5 separate regions of the Homo sapiens genome follow, and regions 1, 2, 3 and 5 are each linked to region 4. The links are contacts of gene promoters, found by promoter capture Hi-C in blood cells and fetal thymus (Javierre and others, 2016). All regions are on one chromosome and are shown on one strand. Each heading gives the region's core, a stretch centred on a gene start or on the middle of the fragment in contact. The rest is flanking DNA. Distances are from core to core; before and after follow the strand shown.

Region 1 (4,823 bases), core at 936-3,435, 840 kb before region 4:
TTTCAGTAGTGTTTTGTGGTTCTCCTTGTAGCAATCTTTCACCTCCTCTGTTCATATACTCCTAGGGTTTTGTTGTTGTGTTGTTTTGTTTTTGCAGCTATCATAAAAGGGATTGAGTTCTTGATTTGATTTCTTAGTGATATGGTTTGGCCATGTCCCCTCCGAAAATCTCATCTTGAATTGTAGCTCCCATAATCCCCACATGTTGTGGGAGGGACCCAGTGGGAGATAATTGAATCATGGTGGTGGGTTTTCCCCATGCTGTTCTCATCATAGTGAATAAGTCTCACAAGATCTGATGGTTTTATAAAGGGCAGTTCACCTGCACAGGTTCTCCTGCCTGCCAGCATGTAAGACATGCCTTTGCTCCTCCTTTGGCTTCTGCCATGATTGTGAGGTCTCCCCAGCCATGTGGAACTGTGAGTTCATTAAACCTCTCTTTCTTTATAAATTACCCAGTCTCGAGTATGTCTTTCTTAGCAGTGTGAGAATGGACTAATACACTCAGCTTGGTCGTTGTTGGTATATAGCAGCACTACCAATTTGTGTACATTGATTCTGTAGCATGAGACTTTACTGAATTCATTTATCAAATCTAGGATTCTTCTGGAAGAGTCTTTAGGGTTTTCTAGGTATATGAGCATATCATTGGCAAACAGATAGTTTGACTTTCTCTTTTCCAATTTGGATGCCCTTTATTTCTTTTTCTTGTCAGATTACTCTGACTAGGACTTCCAGTACTGTGTTGAATAGAAGTGTTGAAAGTAGGTATCCTTGTCTTGTTCCAGTTCTTAGGGGGAATGCTTTCAACTTTTCCCCATTCAGTATGTTGGCTCTGGGTTTGTCATAGATGGCTTTTCATATTTTGAGGTATGTTCCTCCTATTGAGCTCTACTTTTTAAAAGTAAACAGTTTTATTTTAGCTTTTCAAGCTTCAAATTTTTATTTTTTGAAGTGGGCAGAGGTATATGTGCCTTTTTAAATTTTTTTTTTTGGAATAGCTTATATGAAATGTCATACCCTAGGATTTTTAGTTCCAAGCCTCAGAAATTCTCTTTCAAGAATCAGATCCATGAAGTTCCCTTAAAAAGAGGATAATTAAAATAACCTGAAAAGTAAATGCATCCTAGATGAAAGCGTTAAATCTTTTTGGATTCCTCAAACACGCTACTGTATTGCCAGGGAAGATGGATATCGAAGGTATCATTGGTTGATATTCCCTGATGGTCACAGATATAACTATAATCACAGGTAAATGCACATCAGATCTTGAGATACGTTATAGTCAGGATATGGGTTGCCATCCAGTTTGAATGTCTGGGCATTCTGGTAATTTGAAAAGCAGCAATACAAAAGTGTTCTGCCTGTCCTGTAGTCAGCTCTCCAGGATGTCTCCTAATCCTGATAGGCATCAGAAAAACTTGAATGTCTTTCCCTGGGGCAGTCAGATCAACCGTCCTGGGGTTATGTCTTCAGTCAATAGTGAGACCACCTGAGAAAGTTTTTCAGGCTCTGCCTAGGTCTCTGGCTAGCCTCCTCTTTATCCCTGGTGTTTATCTGGATTTCAGGTGATTATTGGTATTCCTCCAGGCTGGGGGTAATATTTCCATGTACAGGTGGTTCTACAGGTTTGGCAGTCTACAGGAGTAGATTAGAGTCTTTAAACTGAGTGTCCTAACTTCCTTTGCTCTGGGAAGAAGTCCTAACTTCCTTTGCTCTGGGAAGAAGTCCTAACTTCCTTTGCTCTGGGAAGAAGTCCTAACTTCCTTTGCTCTGGGAAGAAGTCCTAACTTCCTTTGCTCTGGGAAGAAGTCCTAACTTCCTTTGCTCTGGGAAGAAGTCCTAACTTCCTTTGCTCTGGGAAGAAGTCTTAACTTCCTTTGCTCTGGGAAGAAGTCCTAACTTCCTTTGCTCAGGGAAGAAGTCCTTGAGGTGTAAGACTCACTGTGGCTCCAACCCCTACCGTCCAATATTTGCATTCACTCCTTAGTAATTTTATTACTCACACTAGTGTTTTGAGGCTTCACAGGTATCCCAGTACCTAGGCAGTGCCTGATAATTTCCACAGGTTTATTTTCTCTTTAACATAGTGTTCATAATTCTTCACTGATTCCACAAAGGCCAAGATGCATGGCAGGTGGAATTTTAGGGAGTGACCAGGTAAGCCTCCCTGGGCTTGGTGCTGACTGTTGACAGGGTGCTCACCAGGGCCCCATCAGGGCTCTTCGTTTGCTCTTCTCACGGGACAGCACAGCCTCATCCACCATTGATTTTCCACTGCTGTCAGTGTCCTTACTGTCTTCCGGGTTAGACCTTAGGTGATAACATACAACGTCTGTGTTTTTAAAGTGTGCTAAGTCAAATTTTCTTAAATATACATAATTTTGTCAGTTTTAAATTACCAGATACATTCAAGAATTATATTAATTGCTGCTGAGTTAGAATTGCATTTTAAAGAGAATAGTTTTATGAAATTTGAACTTGAAGAATAGAGTAGGAAATGTTAGATGGTTACCCTAAACATTGTAAATAATAGGGAGGGAAGAGGATCCGATGTCTGACTCATGGCAAGTAATTGACTTTGAAAAATACGAATTTTCTAAAAAGAAAGGCTGAACCGAAACTTGCCCACTCCAGTCTCTGATCTCATTCTCCTCAGCTCAGTGAGACCACACACTCCCTTTGGATCTCCATCCCTGCACTGTGGCCTGGGAATTGCTGTGAGGCAGAACACTGAGGTGGTTGTTATTATTATTATTATTATTATTATTATTATTATTATTATTTTTCAGACCAGTCTCGCTCTGTCGCCCAGGCTGGAGTGCAGTGGCGCGATCTTGGCTCACTGCAAGCTCCGCCTCCTGGGTTCACGCCATTCTCCTGCATCAGCCTCCCAAGTAGCTGAGACTACAGGCGCCTACCACCATGCCTGGCTAATTTTTTGTATTTTTAGTAGAGACGGGGTTTCACCGGGTTAGCCAGGATGGTCTCGATCTCCTGACCTCGTGATCCACCCACCTCAGCCTCCCAAAATGTATTATTATTTTTTAAATGTAGTTTGCTTTTGAAAGAACAACACAATAGTAAATACTTAATACATGTACTGTTAATAATATTTGCATATTAAATTGTGGGTATGTTTTAGTATAAATGGGCACTAATTTTATACTTTATCCAGTCTCACACTTTAAATAGACATTGTATCACTTAGGAGAAGGGCAATTATTCTGTTGTGGGAGTGGAGAAGAAAGGCTGAAACAGAGTCTAATGAAGTACATTATTTCAACACTTCTTTCTCTTCCTTTTTAATGGAACCCTGCTCCTCAGATAGAGTGGTTTTTGTCTTTGGTTCTGTTTATATGCTGGATTACGTTTATTGATTTGTGTATGTTGAACCAACCTTGCATCCCAGGGATGAAGCCCACTTGATCATGGTGGATAAGCTTTTCGATGTGCTGCTGGATTCGGTTTGCCAGTATTTTATTGAGGATTTTTGCATCAATGTTCATCAGGGATATTGGTCTAAAATTCTCTTTTTTTGTTGTGTCTCTGCCAGGCGTTGGTATCAGGATGATGCTGGCCTCATAAAATGAGTTAGGGAGGATTCCCTCTTTTTGTATTGATTGGAATAGTTTCAGAAGGAGTGGTACCAGCTCCTCCTTGTACTTCTGGTAGAATTTGGCTGTGAATCCGTCTGGTCCTGGACTTTTTTTGGTTGGTAAGCTATTAATTATTGCCTCAATTTCAGAGCCTGTTATTGGTCTATTCAGGGATTCAGCTTCTTCCTGGTTTAGTCTTGGGCGGGTGTATGTGTCCAGGAATTTATCCATTTCTTCTAGATTTTCTAGTTTATTTGCGTAGAAGTGTTTATAGTATTCTCTGATGGTAGTTTGTATTTCTGTGGGATCAGTGGTGATATCCCCTTTATCATTTTTAATTGCGTCTATTTGATTCTTCTCTTTTTTCTTCTTTATTAGTCTTGCTAGCGGCCTATCAATTTTATTGATGGCCATTGCTGAGGCTTGAGTAGGTAAACAAAGTGGCCTGGAGGCTCGAACTGGGTGGAGCCCACTGCAGCTCAAGGAGGCCTGCCTGCCTCTGTAGACCACCTCTGGGGGCAGGGCATAGCCGAACAAAAGGCAACAGAAACGTCTGCACACTTAAATGTCCCTGTCTGACAGCTTTGAAGAGAGTAGTGGTTCTCCCAGCACGGAGTTTGAGATCTGAGAACGGACAGACTGCCTCCTCAAGTGGGTCCCTAACTCCCAAGTAGCCAAACTGGGAGGCACCCCCCAGCAGGGGCAGACTGACACCTCACATGGCTGGGTACCCCTCTAAGACAAAGCTTCTAGAGGAACGATCAGGCAGCAACATTTGCTGTTCTGCAGCCTCTGCTGCTGATACCCAGGCAAACAGGGTCTGGAGTGGACCTCCAGCAAACTCCAACAGACCTGCAGCTGAGGGTCCTGACCGTTAGAAGGAAAACTAACAAACAGAAAGGACATCCACACCAAAACCCCATCTGTACGTCACCATCATCAAAGACCAAAGGTACATAAAACCTCAAAGATGGGGAAAAAACAGAGCAGAAAAGCTCAAAATTCTAAAAATCAGAGCACCTCTCCCCCTCCAAAGGAACGCAGTCCTCACCAGCGACAGAACAAAGCTGGATGGGAATGACTTTCACGAGTTGAGAGAAGAAGGCTTCAGACGATCAAACTTCTCCAAGCTAAAGGAGGAAGTTCGAACCCATCGCAAAGAAGCTAAAAACCTTGAAAAAAGATTAGACGGATGGCTAACTAGAATAACCAGTGTAGAGAAGT
Region 2 (4,818 bases), core at 1,310-3,809, 860 kb before region 4:
TTATAAGATTAACAGTAATAAAAATATTTCAATTCAGGTTATAATATAAAAGCGTCATACAAGCTGAATTTTAATGCAAATGCTTTGATAAAGAATTATAGGCAAGGTGCAGTGGCTCATGCCTGTAGCCCCAGCACTTTGGGAGGCTGGGGAGGGCAGATCACTTGAGGTCGGGAGTTTGAGACCAGCCTGGCCAACATGACAAAACCCCCTCTCTACCAAAAAAATACAAAAATTAGCTGGGTGTGGTAGCTAACACCTGTGGTCCCTGCTATTTTGGGGGCAATGGCATGAGAATCACTTGAGCCTGGGAGGTGGAGGTTGCAGTGAACCAAGATCGTGACACTGCACTCCAGCCAGGGCAACAGAGAGAGGCTTCATCTAAAAAAAAAAAAAAAAAATATATATATATATATATATATATATATATATATATATATAATTAAAAGAATATAGTAGTTGTAAGTCTCACACCTGACCATACTTTTGAATTCCTTCTCTTTATCTGTCCTCATCTACCAAGTCTTGCCATAAAAGAATCTGAGTAATTGGATCTCTTGGAATAATTAATAGACATAATAACCATGATGGGCCTAGCTGTGAATTCTACACTCTTAAACACTAGGTGGCCAAAGGAAAGATCTTTTTTTCACTTTGAGTGACTCATCTAAATATAATATTTTGGATTTATTTGTTGCTTGTTTTAGAATTTTTCACATATCTAAAACCCTTGGTTTAGTGCGTGCTTCTTTTTAAAATTTTTTAAATCGATTGCTCTGATGGACAAAATATAAATTTTTAATACAAAGCAAGGAGGTTTTCTGTGTGTGGCATTACAAGTATAGACTTTAAACAATGTGATCCTAATTGGGTAATACATCTGAAATGACAGACTTGAATAGGAATAGTAATTAAAAGTCCAGACTTCAGATCTGTCAGTAGATAATCTTGGACTCAAGCCTGGGATAGGTCACTTGTCAGCTGGAAGCCTAGGCAAGATATTTTATCTTTCCAATTCTCAGTTTCCTCATGAGTAAAATGTGGGCACTAGAGTTATCAGTTGGTAAGGATTAAGTGAGCTGGGACGGTAAAAGCTTAGTCACACCATACAGTTCTCAGAATATTTTATTTTAGTTTAATGAATACAGGTCCTTATTGTGCAAGGGATCTAATAATCAAAGATAAATTTATAGAAGAACTAAATTTTCTAACTAAAACTTCTCACCATCATATAAAGAGTTTTTAACCTCCACAAGGAATATGAGTTCAACATCACTGTAACTCTTAATGTAAAATATGGAACTGATGATATGGTTTGGCGCCGTTTCCCCACCCAAATCTCATATCAAGTTTTAATCCCCACGTGTCAAGGGAGGGACCTAGTGGGAGATATTTGGATCATGGGGGTGGATTTCCCCCTTGCTGTTCTTGTGATAGTGAGTTCTCATGAGATTTGATGGTTTAAAAGTGTATGGCACTTCCCCCTTGGCTCTCTCTCTCCTGCCGCCATGAGAAGAAGGTGCTTCCCCTTTGTCCTTCTGCCAGGATTGTAAGTTTCCTGAGGCCTCCCAGCCATGCTTCCAGTTAAGCCTGCTGAACTGTGGTCAATTGGACCTCTTTTCTTCATAGATTCCCCAGTCTCAGGTAGTTCTTCATAGCAGTGTGAGAGTGGACTACTACAACTGACTTCTAGAAGTTGATTGAATTAGAGGGAAAACCTACATGAAATGCTATCATGAGCATTTCTTGTACTTGCACTCCCACTTAGTCTATTGGATTACCATTTTCGTACTGAACACACTTATGTCTGGCTTCACTTTTGATTTTATTTTTCTAAAATCCCAATCAGAGAATGTGAAAACCAATGCTATGAGGTTGAACCATATGAAAATGCCAGTATCCACTTTCTTTGACCTATAAAAATGGCTTCAATTTGATATTACTATGAACAGTAGAGTTGTTCTTCATTTAACAGAATAAATGTATTCATAGGAATATAATATTTAATTAAAAATAAATTTTCTGGGCCAGGTACAGTGGCCCAGCACACCTGAGTGTAATCTCAGCACTTTATGAGGCCAAGGTGGGTGGATCACTTGAGGTCAGGAGTTCCAAACCACCTTGGTCAACATGGTGAAACCCCGTCTCTACTAAAAATACAAAAATTAGCCAGGTGTGGTGGTGCACGCTTGTAGTCCCAGCTACTCGGGGGGCTGAGGCATGGAAATTGCTTGAACCCGGGAGGCAGAGTTTGCAGTGAGCTGAGATCATGCCTCTGCACTCCAGCCTGGGCAACAGAGTGAGACTCTGTCTCAAAATAAATAAATAAATAAATAAATAAAATGTTCTATTACCTGCATTGCATGGTACTTTTGGTTTAGTTGCTTGCTAAACAAATACCACTTAAAGTTGCACAGCAAGTCTGCTAAAATCCAACATTTCACTTTGTGGAAGGAAAATAAATATCAGGACCCAAAATCACTAAGCCAAAGGGGAAAGTCAAGCTGGGGAACTGGGTCAGACAAACCTGCTTTCCATTTTATTCCCAAATAAGATAGCCACAAAGATAAAAAAGCTACATACCTTACTCACAATTTTGCTCACAAGGAAATTCCGTTGGGGGGGGGGGAGGGGCGGGGGCTCACGATCTTTACCCTAAAACCATTCTGTTGAATTTTTACCCTGGCAAGGTAAATTGATAGCTTATTTTCACAGGTGTGGGACAAAGGACAGAACTCAAAGTCATCCTGCTCACCTGAGACAAATGCATATCTGATTGCTTCCTCTGCCTTATCATTTATGTAAAAATGCAGTCGCTGAGCCAGACTAAGGCATAAGTGACTATCTGTCTACCCCCATCTCACGTGTAAATTGTGTATCTCAGCGAAAGGCTGATCAAACACTCGAAATAATACAACCGTTTGTCTCTTATCTATGACCTGGAAGCCCCTAACTGAGTTGTCCTGCCTTTCCAGACCCAAGCAATGTACATCTCACACGGGTTGACTGATGTCTCATGTCTCCCTAAAACGTATAAAACCAAGCTGTGTCCTGAACACCTTGGGCACATGTCATCAGGACCTCCTGAGGCAGTGCCATGGGCATGTCCTCAACCTTGGCAAAATAAACTTTCTAAATTGATTGAGACCTGTCTCAGATACTTTTGGTTCACAATTTCTAGAACAACATTTTTTAATAATTGAAATATGAATACGACACAAGAAAATAAAAATAAAAAAAAGAAAAACTAAAACACAAATACTTTTATTTGCCAGAGATTAATATAGTTAGTATTTTTTCATAACACTTTGTGGTCTCTTTCTACTAATATACATGTTTATTTTTACACTATATGATCCTTTTCTTTAACGTCTATCCTAATCCTAGTTTTGCACTTAACAATAAGAAAGACTTTTATAAACAACTTCTTTAATAGTTACATAAATCCTATCATAGGAATAAATCACAATTTATTTAGCCATCGCTCTATCGCGCGTGTGTGTGTGTGCATATGTACATATAAAACATCTTGCTGGCATAAAATGCCATTTACATAAAAGATAATTAGCATTCATTTATTAGTAAATATACAAGAAATTCTATAATTGTCCCTAAATCTTGTTGTAATCTATATTCAATTACCTTCTCTTCCAGTAACTGTCCTTTTTTAAAAATGCAATTACTAATAAAAAATTAAAAATGTGCTGAGTTTCACTTTTTCTTTTAGCTTCTTTGCCTATATTCTGTATGAATTTTCAAAATAGGTATAAAAAAACAAATGAATACAAATAAGAGAGGATAATCAGCCCCTGAATAACACTGTGTGTGGAAAATTAACACCAGGCTTCACTGGAGAAGCGGGACTGCGGACTGACTGATGGAAGGAGGAAGGTGACGATGCGGAAAGAAACGCGTCGCTTTCTATGTTTTGCTTTCTACGCATGGTAGTTGAGGATGTAGAACTTCCTGTGCTTGAAATTCTCAGTGCAGTTACATTAAAAGAAAAAAGGAAGTTGTGCCCTCTGAAGCTTTTCTTTCTTCTCCTTTTTTTTTTTTGGTTTGTTTTTTGAGACTGGGTCTTGCTCTGTTGCCCAGGCTGGAGTGCATTGGCACAATCATGGCTCACTGCAGCCTCAAACTCCTATGCTTGAGCAATCCTCCTGCCTCAGCCTCCACAGTAGCTGGGACCACAGATGCGAACCACCATGACTGGCCTCCAACTTTTCTTTGACTTTATCTCAATACTGCACATAAGCAAAAGAAACCAATCAAACTGTAAGTGCAGAGACAATGGCCAAATAATGTAGGAAATATTTTTGAAATATAATTATTTTGTAGAAAGTATAATTTGGCACTGTAATTATTTACATTTCATTTTATTGTTCTCCTAGATATTTACTTTCTACCATTTCCCCTGCGAGATCTAATGTGTTTACTATATTTTTCTCTAGGTCTTTAAGGGATTTATCACTGGACAATTTATTAAGACATAGTTTTCTTCAAATAATAGAAGAATACAAATGGACGTTTTATACTTTACTACTTCTAGAAGACAGTTTCCTATGAACTATTTATTTATGTGTTTATAAATGTTTATTTATTTAAATGTTCCTATCCCATCAGCCTTTTTACAATTTCTCTGAGCTTTGTTTGTATTAAAAACTTAAAACATACATAAAGATAACATCAGTTTTAATTTTATGCCAATTAACCAAACCCAAAGAAAGCTTTTATGAAAATTAACAAACGGGAGAATCCTTCAGAACAACAGAAAATTCCAAAGGCATCAGTGGTAAATACTGTGATGATTTCTTAAAC
Region 3 (4,775 bases), core at 1,099-3,598, 610 kb before region 4:
GGTCGATTGTATCCTGAGTTAAAAGAACCTGCTCTCCATTATCTCAAGCAGAATATGTTCCACATGCTTCAAAGAAAATGCTAAACCGTCACAGCTGTAAGATCATGCGCTTGCCCTTTCAAGCCCCACATTCTCAACACCTGTTTCTTTGTTTGATCACCAATAAATAGTCTGGGCTTCCAGAGCTCAGGGCCTTCGCAGCCTCCATACTCGCAATAGCCCCCCGGATCCAATTTCTCTCTCAAACTGTCTTTTCTCATTCCTTTGACTCCACCATACTTTGTCACCCCAACAACCTGGTGTTGGATCTGATCACCCCAACATTCTAAAACTCACTCTCTTCACTAAACATATCTGCAGATCTTTCCATGTGTCTGTGTGTGGGTGTGCATCTGTGTAGGTGTGTGCACCACTGAATTCAGCTGGTTTGTTACACACAGTGTTTAGTAATACAAATATAAGATCATATATTTTCTTTCATTCAATTTTTATACAGCTGGAAATGTATCTGTAATATACATACCTAGAAAGAAAATGGAGCATCACAAAGCACATATACTTAAATTTTTAAGAAGACCTAAATATCCTCCCAAAATAACATACTTTGCATTCCCACTAACAGAACAGGAGTATTATTTTCTCATCTACTAGAAAAGCACCTCACACTGGCTGTATTGTGTTGTGGTTATATATTTAATGACCTATTCTGCACAGCAACCCTGTGGAGATGGGTGCAGCACCATGACCCTCCCTGTTTAGCAGACAGGGGCAGGGGCGAGGAGGGCTGAGTGCTACCCAAAGCCACTGCTGTGGAGTGGAGCCAGCGCCAATCTCAGTCTGGCTTCAGAATCTGTGCATCTGACCACAGCGCCAAGCTGCTCAGCAGTGCCCATCTCTGCACTCTTGCCAACACTTAAAATGCTTCCCAATTTGTTCAGTAAAACACCATTTGTTGGTCCAATTTGTGTTCCCTGTATTATTGAGAAACTTAGATGATATTTATCTCCATCAACACCTTGCTAAGAAGTAAAAATCCCAAGTAGGTAGATGAGGTGAGGAAGGGAAGAAACAGTCCCCATAGGCAGAATTCGAGGGGGTTTAAAAAACATCCACCTTAATAATCAATATCAGTACATTAAAAAATGGCTAATAAAGGTATCCGCCCATTCATCAACTTCCAAACTCAGTTCCCATGTGAAATGGTGTTCAAGACCAAACAGCTTTGTGTGTCTCATGAAGAATATGGATTCCAGGAGGGACCATCTCAGTGATCTCCAGGAATGTAAGGAGGCAGAGTCCTCTCTTGGAGATATGGAAGGAGCAAAATACGTACCTGTGTATACAATACCACGATGACGTGCAAAAGGGAAACAAAATAAAACTAAAGGACAACAGAGTCTGGATGTTTTGTTGCCTGCAGATCTCACGTTGAAATGTGACGTCCAACAATGCAGGTGGGCCTGTTCTCGCAGTAACACGAGAGTTCTCACTTTATGAGTTCACGTGGGATCTAGTTGTTTAGAATAGAGCTGGGCACCTCCTCTCTCTCTCTCTTGCTCGCTCAATCTCTCACCATGTGACATGCAGGCTCCCACTTTGCCTTCTGCCATGATCATAAGCTTCCTGAGGCCTCACCAGGAGCTGAGTAGATGCTGGAGCCATGCTTCTCTTACAGCCTACAGAACTGTGAGCCAAAATAAACCTCTTTTCCTTATAGATTACCCAGTCTCACACATTCCTTTATAACAATGCAAACACACCAACAAAAAGGAAAGAAGCAGGCCAGACCTTGCAATGTGGCCTCACGAGGAATGTACACTATGGCTTCCATTGAACCATTTGCACCACTGACTTGTCATAGCATTTCCAGCCTCTGGAAAGCATTCCATAAGCCTTGCCCGCATAACACCTTGAAGTAGCAGCTCCTATAAATTTCATGAACACATCTGCAGTTTGCTACTCCTGACCACAAGCAGAGCCAGGCCAGGCTTGGGACATTCACACAAAACAAACACATCAAGTAGTGAACAAGCCTCACAGCCTCCAGTTCTAGGGCTTAACAGAGAGCCACACTGCACCTGCACAGCTTCAGTGCCGCTCATCATTTGCTGAATCCCTTAAGCAAGTGAGTCAACAAGGTCTTTCATTTTTTTTATCTTATACGGGCGATCTCCAATGTAGTATTCCTCAGCTTAGCAACAACGGCACATTTAGAGAAGAAAGAGTTAAGCTGCAGGCCCCTCCTCCCCAGCAATCTTTACACAGCATTTCTATGCAACGGACCACACACAAAACACGCCTGCAGTCATGTAACGGCGGTAACATTTGTTGAATTCTTACTATGTACCAGGCGTGCTTTCAAGCTCTGTGTGTGTATGAACCCACTCAATGCTCACACGGGCCTCTGACGTAGCTAACTGCTGTGATTCTCATCTACAGACGAGGAATCCTCAAGGTGAAGCCCTGCCCACATGACAAAGCAGGCGCGAGAGCAGCGAGATGGGGACCCAGGCCGACCTCGGCCCCCGACAGAGCCGGCAGGGAGAAGGACCCAGGCCCACCTCGGCCCCCGACGGAGCCGGCAGGGAGAAGGACCCAGGCCCACCTCGGCCCCCGACGGAGCCGGCACAGAGCAAGAATGAGGTGGTGCTCATCCCACACACGACGTTCCCTGTGCTGGCGTCGAAGCACCTGCACAACGTTGCTTCTTTGGGAACACGCATTCCGGTTCCAGACAAAATGCGAAGTTACCAGGAAGCCTGTTTGAGAGTGGGGTTGGGAGGGGGGGTCTTCCCTTCTGAACTGGCAGCCAGAACCCCGAGGAAGTGTCTTTTTTTTTTTTTTTTTAAACAGGGCAGCTACTCTGGTCTTGAATCACCATTCACCACCAAAGGTTTCTCTTTTAGATGGACGTAAATCAGCCCTGATGAAGGTGCCGGGGCAGCCACACAACGCACACAGAACACAGAACATCTCCTCTGCTTTCTTTCCTCTCTGGGCCACTCTTTTTCACAGCAGCAGAATGAACTAATAAATTCACAGTACTGGTAAAAATGCCCTTTAAAGGACAGGAGCAGTTAAGCTTGTGAACTCATTTCAGCAGAAATAATATTTTCAGGAAACACGCACCGCGAGGGGAAATTCAGTGAAAAATGTGCATGTACCTTTTTCGATGTTTAGCGTGACACAGACTTTCAAAAACACAACAGATAAGTGAGATTGCGATTTTTAATAGGAAAAGATACAATGTAAAAGCAGCCAATATATTAAGTTATGAGTTGATTTAATGTAATATTCTTCCTTTTCTCTAACAGGAGCAATGCATGCCCACTAAAAACAGCCCATTTTACAAGCTGCACAGCACGGAAAGTGAGCTGCCCATCTTTACTGCCTCACCCACCCTGTGCAGCGCAGTTTTTTTTTTTTTTTTGCACTGAATATACTATTTACAGATACTTAATTTTTTGTTACCAAAAACGGGATCACACTATATAAACTTTTTTACAAACTCTTTCTCATAAGCCTTGGCCACCTTTCTATTTCCAGGGGAGGTTATGGGCTGGAACTGGGGGGGACCCCGTGGGGAGGCCCCTCCTCTGCCATCTTCCCGCTGCACCTCCTTTGCCAAAACCAACTTCTCATCATCTAATTCACCACAAAACAGAACACACTGTAAAACGCACGTGGTTGGGTGAAATTAAACAGGAAACTTGGTTTGCTATTCGATGCTACCTAACTCTCATGGTCTGGGTCACGTGATTTTCATCTCGAAACTACTCTGTAGTTAGAGAATTGCAAAATTTTATCCCTCTTTTTAGATAAAATGACACAGTTTATCTTGCGTTCTCTTACATGCGGGATTATGGAACTCTGGGTCTGACTTTTCCGAGCAGTGGGAAGTGCTCACTTCGGATCCACTTTGGCTCAGGGCTGTGCTGACGTTTTCTCCGCTGTCACTCATCCAGGCACCATCAGCACCCAGTGGGCATCAGACAGCACCCTTCTCCCTGCGGACACGTCTTCTTTGATTTTTCTCCCAGCTAACTTCGAGCTTGGATACTTTCAAAAACTAGAAGATGGTTGTGGTGACAAGGGGGTATTTTATCTTTTCTGGAATTATTGTTTCATTGTTTTATATGATTTTTGCATTTTCATTACTAAAATATCAGGGTATCCAAATAGTACTTTGTAGTTACAAAGCTAAAAATTATGTTTTTCAGTTCAATAAACATTTCACAACGTAGCTTTAAGAAAATCAAGTCTATCATCTACATTCTAGAGATGGTAACAGAGTCAGATGGCAGGAGATTTAGGGGATACTTGTAGCCAGGAAACAGTTTCCTGGTTTTCGCCTTGCAATTTGTCCTTTAAAAAATGTCTGATGAGTTTAGGCACCACAAGCCCCTATTTCCCCAATATTTTTCTACTCTAAAACTAACATCGGGAGAAAAGAAAACACAAAATATAACAGGACAGTGACAGTTTTAAAGAGAAAAAAATACTTTAAATGCCTAGGTGAAAATACAGTTCACGTAGCAAGACTGAGCAGACTTCACTAGAGAACGTGATTTCCTGCCACCACTTGGCTGACACACATGAACACGAAGGTGAAAACAGACACACATGAAGGCACACACATCAACACAAACACGAAAACAGGCATACACAGGTGAAGACAGACATGAAGGCATGCATGCATGAACAGGCATGCATAAAGACACGTGAACACAAACATGCCTAGACAAAGACATGCATACATGTGAACACAGACATGC
Region 4 (4,724 bases), core at 2,023-4,522:
TGCTGTCCCGAGAAGAAAGCAAGTGACCTGGCACATGGTGGAGGCTCCCTGCATTGCAGTTGTTAAGGTTCAACGATAATTTAATGAATAGAACAAAAGTTTAGCAAATATTATTGTAACTAAGCAGCTAATAAGAACATAGATAATACATAATGCATAATTAATAATACACAATCTCTTTGCTCACTTATTAATGCCTGTAGAATAGGGTTAGTGAAAAGCTAAAATAATTCACATAAAGTATTTTTAACATGCCTGGTAGATAGTAAGTGAGCAAAGAGTGAAGAAACAGAGGCTTGGGGAAGCTGAGACATTTTCCCAGGATCACAGCGGGTGGAGCTGTATCTCAGAAATGAAGCTCACAGTCTTAACTCACTGTGTAATTCTGCAGAGAATGTCAGGCTGCACCTTTGGCCCGGAGGGTGGCTCTCATGCCATTGCTGCCTTCCACCTAAGGAGGTGTTTCCTTAGACCTCCCTGTTGACAGCTTTCCTCTTTATGGCACAGTGTGGAGTTCTGACCCACTTCAGGGTTGTGCAGAGGGGGTCTGACAGTACTGTAATTCAGTAGGACTACTTGAGTATTGCAGAAGCTTGATTCCAACCGCTACAGCCCCTACATCAGGAACTTACTCAAGCCAACATTCAATCAACGGAGTTCCACAGTCACTGTGAATGCTCTTGGCAGTGCTGCCTGAGGTGAGGGATGGCAAAAAAGTAAGACACAGTTCCTGTCCACGAAGAGCTGGCTACTTCTTTTGGAAACAAGATGTACACAAGGAAGCATCTAGGTACAAAGCAGCATGTGACTCGTTCTGAATGAGTTCCTGTGGGGATCCAGGGAAGTGGCCGACGGGCCCAATGGAGCACTCATAGGACCCTCTAAGACCGGATGCCTACTGATGGCTAATCCCCATGTAAAGGCTCCTTTCAGGCAGGAAGTTCAGTTCTGCAAAATGTACCTTTCATCCATCAGAATTACAGCAACGAGAAGGTAAAACAGAAAAGACCAAACCCACAAAATAAAAAGGTCTGAAAAACAAAGCTTTTTACTGAGAAGTGCCTCGCAGTCAGAAGCTTTGCAGAGTACCCTTGAGAGCATCCTTTACTACAGCTGAGAAGTACCTTTCTGTCACAAGGTACACACTCAGAGGCGTCCTGGCAGCTGGAACCTGCTAATGCAGTCAGGAACTGGCAATGTGCCTCGTACTGCAGGCAGCATTTGCGACACTCCTCAGAAAAGGCCTTTAGAGTTTGGCTTCCCCAGAGAAGCCCAGAAGTGTATGATAAAGAAGCTTGCTCCTAGTGGTGTAGAATACATACTTGCCCCCAAGAAGCTATACTCTGCCACAAAATCACAAGAACAGGCAAGGATGTTGATTCTCATCAACACGCACATGGTGTAAGATGCTTGGTACCTTATCATTGTTATAGCTCTGGGCCCATGATGAGTCATTATGGTTGTGCATTCACAGACATGCCTTTGTAGCTGAACAAGTTAAAAGCAGGTGGCTCATGCCTGTAATCTCTGCACTTTGGGAGGCCAAGGTGGGTGGATCACTTGAGGTCAGGGTTTGAGACCAGCCTGGCTAATATGGTAAAACCCTGTCTCTACTAAAAATACAAAATATTAGCCGGGAGTGGTGGCAGGTGCCTGTAATCCCAGCTACTTGGGAGGCTGAGGCAGGAGAATGGCTTGAACCCTGGAGGCGGAGGTTGCAGTGAGCTGAGATGGCGCCACTGCGCTCCAGCCTGCGCGACAGAGTGAGATTCCGTCTCAAAAAAAAAAAAAAAATTAAAGAAAGGATGTTTGCCCATCTGAAGCAAAGTATTGACTGGACTTATCTAAATACCGGATTACAAGAAAAAGAGGAACTGGCTATATCAGAGTGAGAGAAAGTGGGAGAGGTTGAGGAAACATACAAGAACCTAAAAGAAAGGGCAATAAGTATGAGCATAGCTTTGCTAATCTCGGAAATGGTGGCCAGAACTGTCCTGTGGTTTAGCAAATGATCATAGCCAGCAAATCCTAATTACCCTAGAAGCTTCCTTTAGAAGTGCCACAAAGATGTAGGAGGTATGCTTATCCGCCTTGTGACACAAAAATGGAAGCATAGTTAATAGATGAGAAAAGCATGACCCAGAATGATTTTCAATATTGGAATGCTGGGAATTTATGAGAGGTATTTTCGCGTAAGAATAATAGGACTTGTTTAAAAGGATTGGAGAGTGGGGGGCATCCCAGATGCGTGAGAAGCAGTATAGCTAATGGTTAGAAGCAGGTTTGCTGGAGCCAGGCTGCCTGGGTTCAAAGCCCACCTCTGCTGCCTGTTAGCTTGTCAGCTGCACAACCACGGGGTGCTTTCGAGCCTTGTGTGCCTTTGTTTCCCCATGCACTTCATGAGGCTGTTGCAGAAATTAAACGAGTTAATATATAGTCAGCAGCTCTGAACACTGCTTGACTGAGTCAGCCCTACCTAACGTTTAATTTAAGGGATGTGGCCCTGGGTTCCCAAAGGGAGCGGCCACTCTATTCACAAACATAAAAGCAGTAAAGGCTCCATCCTCATCAACCTTCTCCTCAGTTGGACCCCACAGGACTGTCTCTCGCAACTGTTCCCTGGGCTCTCCTAAGGCACTGCGCGGAACCAGCTGCACCTCTTTTGCCTTAGATCAGGCTTTCCCTTCTCCGCCCGTTTTGGGATTTAACAAGCACGAGAAAGCAGGGCTGCAGGGAAGCCGCGAGGGCCTCCTCACCACGGCCCGGGATCAAGTCCCACGCGCGAGGCCGGGGTAGGGGCGTCATCTGCTCCACACCCAGAGGCTGGGCACGCCCCGCACGCGCGGCTTCCTCCTCCTTTGCGGGGCTCGCCGCGACCCAGGACCCCCAGACTCCCGGATCCCCTAGACCCTCTGGACTCCTAAGCCCCGCAACTCCCAAATCCCAAGACCCCGGACCCTCCAACCCTGGCCCAGGGCGCGTGGCTGGGGGCCTGAACCCGCTCCAGAAACCCGCAGGGCAGTCTGTCGGAAACCCCCGCTTTACTCAGCAGGAATTTAGTCTCCGCGCTCCCCCTAAAACCCGGGCGTCCTCTCCTCTGTACCCTCGCTCCTGAGGCCCTCACACGCCCTCCGTGGCTGACCTCCAAGCCGGGCGGGTGCGCTGTGCGACGCGGAAAGCGCCGTAGAGCACGCAGAACACGATTGGCTGAGCTCCCGGAAGTGACGTACCTCAACCGCCCGACAGTGGAAGTCCCACCTGCGCCCGACGGCGGAAGTTCCGGGAGTGCCAAGTACCCGCGTGCATACGGCTGCCGGCATGGCACATTACAACTTCAAGAAAATTACGGTGGTGCCGTCCGCCAAGGTAGGCGGCCCCGGGAGGGCCACTGCAACTTTCGCGTTCTCCTCAGCTGGGTCCCCGGGGAGGGTCCGGGCCTGTAGCCGTGGGAGAGCGGTCGCCTTCCGCTCGCCCATCCCCCGCTCCTGGGCCTGACCGTCTGGCCGCGTACTCGGGATCATTTCCCCTCCCCCAGCAGAATCCGGGGTCCACCAGAGATCGGATCCCCCAGAGACCGGGGTCCACCTAAGACCGTGGTCCACCCAAAGACTGAGGGCCCCCAGAGATGGGGGTACACCCAGAGTTGGGTTCCCTGGAGGGGCCCCGGGTGACGATGTGGGCGAGTGGAGGGGGACCCCGACATGTGAGGGAGGAAGCGTTCCGTGGTCCGTGATGAGCCTTCGGATTCTGGGTTTGGCGTAGCCCCCTCCCCTCTCAGGAATCCTGGGTTCGTTGTTCTCGTGATTTAACGTTTCATAATTTTTAAGTCATTCTCTTTCACTGTTAGATTTGGGAATACCTGTTCCTTTTCAGACCATAGTAGGCCCAGACTAAATTTTTACAGCGTTGGTTGGTGTGGCAAGAATGAGTCAACAAGTGTTGAGTATTAGGACTTTTTTTTTTTTTTTTTTTTTTTGAGACATAGTTTTTCGCTCTTGTTTCCCAGGCTGGAGCGCAGTCTCGGCTCACTGCAACCTCCACCTCCCGCGTTCAAGCGATTCTCCTGCTTCAGCCTCCCGAGTAACAGGGATTACAGTCGTGCACCACCACACCCAGCTAATTTTCGTATTTTTAGTAGAGACGGGGTTTCACCACGTTGGCCAAGCTGGCCTCGAACTCCTGATCCCGGGTGATCCTCCCGCCCCGGCCTCCCAAAGTGCTGGAATTACAGGCGTGAGCCACTGCGCCCGGCCCTAGTATTAGGACTTTTAAGAAGTCACGTTTTTATGTAGTGAACATTCGATTTGGGTCGCAATTACACAGACATTGACGGGCAACTGGAGCCTCCCAGGGACTCCTGCACGAGAGGGAGTTACTGAAGTCCCTGCAGAGTGACTGTTTTCCCCTCGTCAGTGCCTCCTTTTCTTCAGGTCTCAAGGACGGGATGAGCTTGCCTTGGAAAGCTTTGTGGGAGTCTCGTATTTTACCTTCATAGCAAAAGTTGTTTCCCCACTTCTCTCCACCATTTCTTATTTCTTCCTGACAGTTGTTCTGGCACATCTCTTGATCGATTGTAGTATTTTCTTTCTTTCTTTTTGAGATGGAGTCTCGCTCTGTTGGCCAGGTTGGAGCGCAGTGGTGTGATCCTGACTGCAGCCACCGCCTCCCAGGTTCAAGTGATTTTCCTGCCTCAGCCTCCCGAGTAGCTGGGACTACAGGCATGC
Region 5 (5,187 bases), core at 2,517-5,016, 660 kb before region 4:
CACGGCAAGAAGCCACAAGGCGGGGTTGGTTTCCAGCTCAGAGGGCGGGATCAGGATGGACTGGTGCCCAGAATACACACTGCAGAGAAAGAAGAGGCTGTCAGGGCGGGAGCTCAGCAAGGCTGGAGCTCAGCAAGGCTGGAGGGCTCAGGGCAGCACTGACTCCAAGGAAAAGGAGGACTTGGAACAGCCCGTGCTGCCATCTGTAGAAGGGCACAGTAAAGCCAACGCTGCAAACTGCAACCATGTTCACGAAAGCCTTCTGAAAAGCAAATACGTACTACAGAATCATGGGGCAGTTCCTACCACTTTGAACACACATTTAAGACTACTAAACGCTGTGATGCTGTGATGTCTCTCAGACCTGCGACATCAGCAAACTGGATCCTCTTTCTTAGTAGAAAACACAGGGATCAAATTTCGGTTTAAAAAAAAAAAGTCCAGCTTCAGAACAGGAGCTGGCAAACCACAGACACTTCCTGTTTTTGTAAATAAAGTTTTATTGGAACAGGGCCACCACCACTCATTTGTTTAAATATTGTCTCCAGTGGCTTTGAGCTGAGTGGTCAGAGACCACAGAACCTAAAATATTTACCAAACAGCAATTTAATAAAGAGCAGGCCTATACCTGGTTTAGAAAACTGACAGCCAGGGTGAAAAAAAGACAATTATGGTAATTAAAGTTAGTCACTCAATCTTTTTAAGATCAGATTTTTACTAAAAAGGATCCCAACGAATTACCAAACAGAAGAAATAGAGAAAAATAACGATTCTTTAATTTTACCTTCATACTAGAGAACAGATTTAGAGAAATGAAAAAGTGATAGATTACATATTTTATCAATTGATGGGGTAAGTGTGGATTTAACAACTTGTCAAAACTACATTTTTAATGGTTTTAATTTTGTTTACTACTATGAATTCACAATAGATACCATACATTAAAATAAAATATCCTAGATAAATCACGTTCTAAGATTTACAATTTAATTAACGGGAACGTTCTGTTGCCCAGGCTAGAGTAGGGTGGTGTAATCATAGCTACCTGTCACCTCAAACTCCTGGGCTCCAGCAATTCTCCTGCCTCTCCTGAGTCAGTAGGACCACAGGTGTGCACCACCATGCTTGTTTTTTTTTTTTTTCAGTGGTAGGGTCTATGTTGCCTAGGCTCATCTTGAACTTCGGGGCTCAAGCAATCCTCTCTTGTTCCTGCTGTGGCCATGTAAGATGTGCCTGGCCTCCCAAAGTGTTGGGATTACAGGCATGAGCCACCATGCCCAACCTACACAATTTTTTTTTTTTTTTTTTGAGACAGGGTCTCACTCTGTCACCCAGACTGGAGTGCAGTGGTGTGATCTGGGTTCATTATAACCTCTGCCTTTCAAGCTGAGGCCATCCTCCCACCTCAGTCCCTGAGTAGCTGGGACTACAGATGCACAACACTATGCCTGGCTAATTTTTTTTTTTTTTTTTTTTGTAGATACGGTTTCGTATTGTTGCCCAGGCTGGTCTCAAACTCCTGGCTTCAAGTACTCCTCCTATCTTAGCCTCCCAAAGTGCTAGGATTATAGGCATGAGCTGCCATAAGAGGCCTACGCAAAATTTTATCAGTGAAACAGCACTATGATTAACGAGTTAGGCCTTGTTAACTACTATGCTATAATACTAAAGCCAGTTCTTTAATGTAGCCAATCTCATCTAAAAATTTTCATAATTGTTTATAAGAGAATCCAACTAAAGAAATGTAAGGAAGTTAGGTTGGCTAACAAAATTTATTTCAAACGGGACCCTTAGTATGAAAAACTACTCTTCGGCAAATGTGACAAAGGCGTTTTTGGGCAATTTTCCATTTCTTTCCTCATTCTTATTCCAAAGCTTGATTTATTCTTTTCAAAAGGACACATAGCCCTCTGTGTCTGTGGGTTCCTCACCCCTGGCTTCAACCATGAATCAAAGATATTCATGAAAAAATCTGCATCTATACCTAACTTGTAGATTTTCTTATCATTAGTGACTAAACAACATAGTACAACTATTCACACAGCATTTACATTGTGTTAGGTATTACAAGTAATCCAGAAATTATTTAAAACATGAGAGAGGAAGTGCATAGGTGATGTGCTCGTATGATGCCATTTTATATCAGGGACTTGAGCATCCTCGCTCTTTGCTTTCTGCAGTGGTCCCGGAACCTATCTCCTCCGTGGACACCGAGGGACGACTTTCTAGCAAATAGTGACCTTTCCAAGGGTTTAATACTTTGAGAACAGGGTTAGGCACATAAGGGGTGAATATCAGGCCTCGAATTTTTACTCTGCTGTAAACTGGCCATTTCATCTTAGTTTTAAAAATTTTACTGTGGTAAAACATATGTAACATAACATTTACCATATTAACCACTTCTTTTCTTTTTTTCTGAGACAGAGTCTTACTTTGTCACCCAGGCTAGAGTGCAGTGGTGTGATCACAGCTCACTGTAGCCCTGACCTCATGGGCTCAAGTGATCCTCCCACTTCCCAAGTATCTGGGACTAGAGGCACGTACCACCATGACTGGGACTAGAGACTAGAGGCACATACCACCATGACTGGCTAACTTAAAACTTTTTTTGTGGAGATGGGGTCTCACTATGTTGCCCAAGCTGGTCTTGAACGCCTAGGTTCAAGCAATCCTCCTGCCTCGGACACCCAAAGTCATTTTAACCATTTCTAAGTGTCCCTGGAAGTGGCTTCCTCAAAAATACACATCAGCATTAATGATTTGCTCTGTCAGAATTGTCAGCACACAACGGGCTTGGGAACCCAGTGTGAATTCCTGGCCAGAGAATTTCAAATATACTTGTGAAAACTAAATATAGTTTCACCTCCCTCCTCATCACCATAAATAAGAAATCAACATTAAGAAAACACAAATCTTGACAGCAGAAACAAATAGAAAACCCAACTCATGATTTCCTAATTGCCCTTACCTCACTCAATACAGCAAATTTTGATTAATTGCTGTATTAGCCAAAATTGATTTTTGGCACTGGCAATAAATTCTGCTATGGACAAGACAAACCTACTTAAGAGCAGGTTGCTTATTCTCAAGACATTATTCTCTGAGAATGTTGGGAACCTGAGCTGTTCTTCAGATCTTAACTTCAAAAAGAATAAAAATAGACATTTTGGTAAGTAATACACATTCGCACATTAGCAATTTGATGATTTCAGATTACTAACCTGACAAAATATACCAACAACTGAAAACTCTCCTAACTTGGGAATTCAACAAGACAGGTTCATCTCACCTGGGGGTCCTGGGTCATACCCTGTCTGCCAGCAGGCATGCCATCCAGCCCAGGGTCTCCCTACACACTTGAGTTACTGCAATGAAGCACTTTATTATTTTTTATTGTTGAGACAGAGTCTCACTCCGTCGCCCAGGTTGGAGTGCAGTGGTGCATTCTTGGCTCAATGCAACCTCTGCCTCCTGGGTTCAAGTGATTCTCCTGCCTCATGCTCCTGAGTAGCTGGGATGACAGGCGTGTGCCACCACGCCAGGCTAATTTTTGTATTTTTAGCAGAGACGAGGTTTCATCATGTTGGCCAGGCTGGTCTCAAACTCCTGACCTCAAGTGATCCACCCACCTCAGCCTCCCAAAGTGCTGGGATTACCTGCATGAGCCACCGCACCCGGCCTATTCTTTTTAAAACACCCGTCGGCTTTATTTAGGTATACTTTGCATACCCTAAGTTTCACTCATTTTAAGCACAGAATGGCTTTTAATAAAATTGAAGAGTTGTAAAATGGTCACTACTCTAGAACATTCCCATCACCTGAAAGGGATCCCGTGTCCATCTGCAGTCAGTCCCATTTCCAGCCCTAGCCCCAGTCATCATTCTACTTTGTTTACAAATTTGCCTTTTCTGGACACTGCCTACCACACAGCCACACTTCCCTCCCTCAGCAGGTGCTTCTGAGCTCATCCTGTGCAGAAGCACCCACCATGTGGACGTGGCAGGCGTCACCTGTTCAGTCACCTGCTAGCGGATACCTGGATTGTTTCCTTGTGTTGACCGAGGTTCCAGGGAACTTACACCAAGTCTCTGAGTGGATGTTCGCTTTCCTTTCTCCTAGGAGTGCAGCTGCTGAGTCAATGCAGCAAGTCTGCTTAATTAAGATCATGCCAAACAGTGGCTTCCCCATTTTACATTCCCACTATCAATGTATGAGAATTCGTTTTTCCACCTTCTTGGTTACTGTTGCTTTGCAGTGTAAGTTTTGAAGTCAGAAAACACGAGCTCTCCAACTTTATTTCCTGTGTTTTCGGTGACAGCATTCTAGTGGGTGTGAAGTGGTATCTCACTGTGGTTTTAATTTGCATTTCCCTAATTAACGCTAGGTATCTTTTCACGTCCTTATTGGCCATTTGTATGTCTTCTTCTGGTGAGATATCTATTCAGATCTCTTGCCCGTGTTTATGTTGCTTGTTTCTGAGTTTTGAGTGTTTATTACATAGGCTGGGTGCAGTGGCTCACGCCTGTAATCCCAGCACTTTGGGAGGCTGAAGCGGGCAGATTACTTGAGGTAAGGAGTTCAAGACCAGCCTGGCCAACATGGCAAAACACTGTCTCTACTAAAAATACAAAAAAAATAGCCAGGTGTGGTGGTGCATGCCTGTACTTCCAGCTACTTGGGAGGCTGAGGCAGGAGAATCACTTGAACCTTGGAGGCAGAGGTGGCAGTAAGCTGAGATCAAGCTACTGCACTCCAGCCCGGGTGACAGAGCAAGACTGTCTCAAAAAAAAAAAAAAAAAAAAAGAAAAAATTTATTACATAGGTGCTTAGAAGTGCTTCATGAGATTTATAATTTGCAAATATTTTTTCCCAGACTGTGGCTTGTCTTTCTACTTAATTCTGTCTTTTGATATACAAAAGTTTTAAATTTTGTTCCAGTCCAGTTTATCAGTATTTATGTAGTATACCTTTGATGAACTCTGTGCCTAACCAAGATTATGAAAATTTACTCCTGTGTTTTCTAAAATTTTTATAATTTTTGCTCTTACATTAAGATCTATGATCCACTTGAACTAACTTAGGTATATGACGTTGAGTCAAGGTTTAATCTTTTTTCCTTTTCATGTGAATGTCCGAATTTCCCAGCATCTGTTGTTGGAAAAACTTTTCTTCATTGAATTGCTCGGG

What was found. The method cuts DNA at HindIII sites, captures the fragments that hold promoters and counts their contacts. A CHiCAGO score of 5 or more calls a contact.
Region 1: a fragment that was not itself captured here is called in contact with the fragment with the promoter of GTPBP4 in region 4 in 2 of 17 cell types (fetal thymus and naive CD4 T cells); the score reaches 7.9 in fetal thymus.
Region 2: a fragment that was not itself captured here is called in contact with the fragment with the promoter of GTPBP4 in region 4 in 3 of 17 cell types (fetal thymus, total B cells and naive B cells); the score reaches 9.1 in fetal thymus.
Region 3: a contact is called between a fragment that was not itself captured here and the fragment with the promoter of GTPBP4 in region 4, in 1 of 17 cell types (fetal thymus). The highest score is 5.4, in fetal thymus.
Region 5: a fragment that was not itself captured here is called in contact with the fragment with the promoter of GTPBP4 in region 4 in 2 of 17 cell types (naive CD8 T cells and total B cells); the score reaches 5.4 in naive CD8 T cells.

The regions. Positions count from the first base shown.
Region 1 is chr10:146,541-151,363 of GRCh38, forward strand. The region is part of intron 1 of ZMYND11 (zinc finger MYND-type containing 11); the gene reads left to right. It also overlaps the pseudogene DDX20P1. Among named protein-coding and RNA genes, the nearest start is that of ZMYND11, 13 kb to the left of the region's middle. The HindIII fragment of the contact is 2,511 bases long and covers 931-3,441 here.
Region 2 is chr10:124,103-128,920 of GRCh38, forward strand. No RefSeq gene overlaps it. Among named protein-coding and RNA genes, the nearest start is that of ZMYND11, 8.9 kb to the right of the region's middle. The HindIII fragment of the contact is 2,934 bases long and covers 1,093-4,026 here.
Region 3 is chr10:373,728-378,502 of GRCh38, forward strand. The region is part of intron 17 of DIP2C (disco interacting protein 2 homolog C); the gene reads right to left. Among named protein-coding and RNA genes, the nearest start is that of ZMYND11, 240 kb to the left of the region's middle. The HindIII fragment of the contact is 1,463 bases long and covers 1,618-3,080 here.
Region 4 is chr10:985,162-989,885 of GRCh38, forward strand. GTPBP4 (GTP binding protein 4) reads left to right here and starts at 3,273. Exons shown (of 17, transcript NM_012341.3): 1 at 3,273-3,366. The coding sequence starts at 3,319. It also overlaps a transcript of LARP4B not described here. The HindIII fragment of the contact is 2,419 bases long and covers 2,043-4,461 here.
Region 5 is chr10:329,523-334,709 of GRCh38, forward strand. It overlaps DIP2C (disco interacting protein 2 homolog C), which reads right to left. Exons shown (of 37, transcript NM_014974.3): 30 at 1-79. Among named protein-coding and RNA genes, the nearest start is that of ZMYND11, 200 kb to the left of the region's middle. The HindIII fragment of the contact is 3,787 bases long and covers 1,874-5,187 here.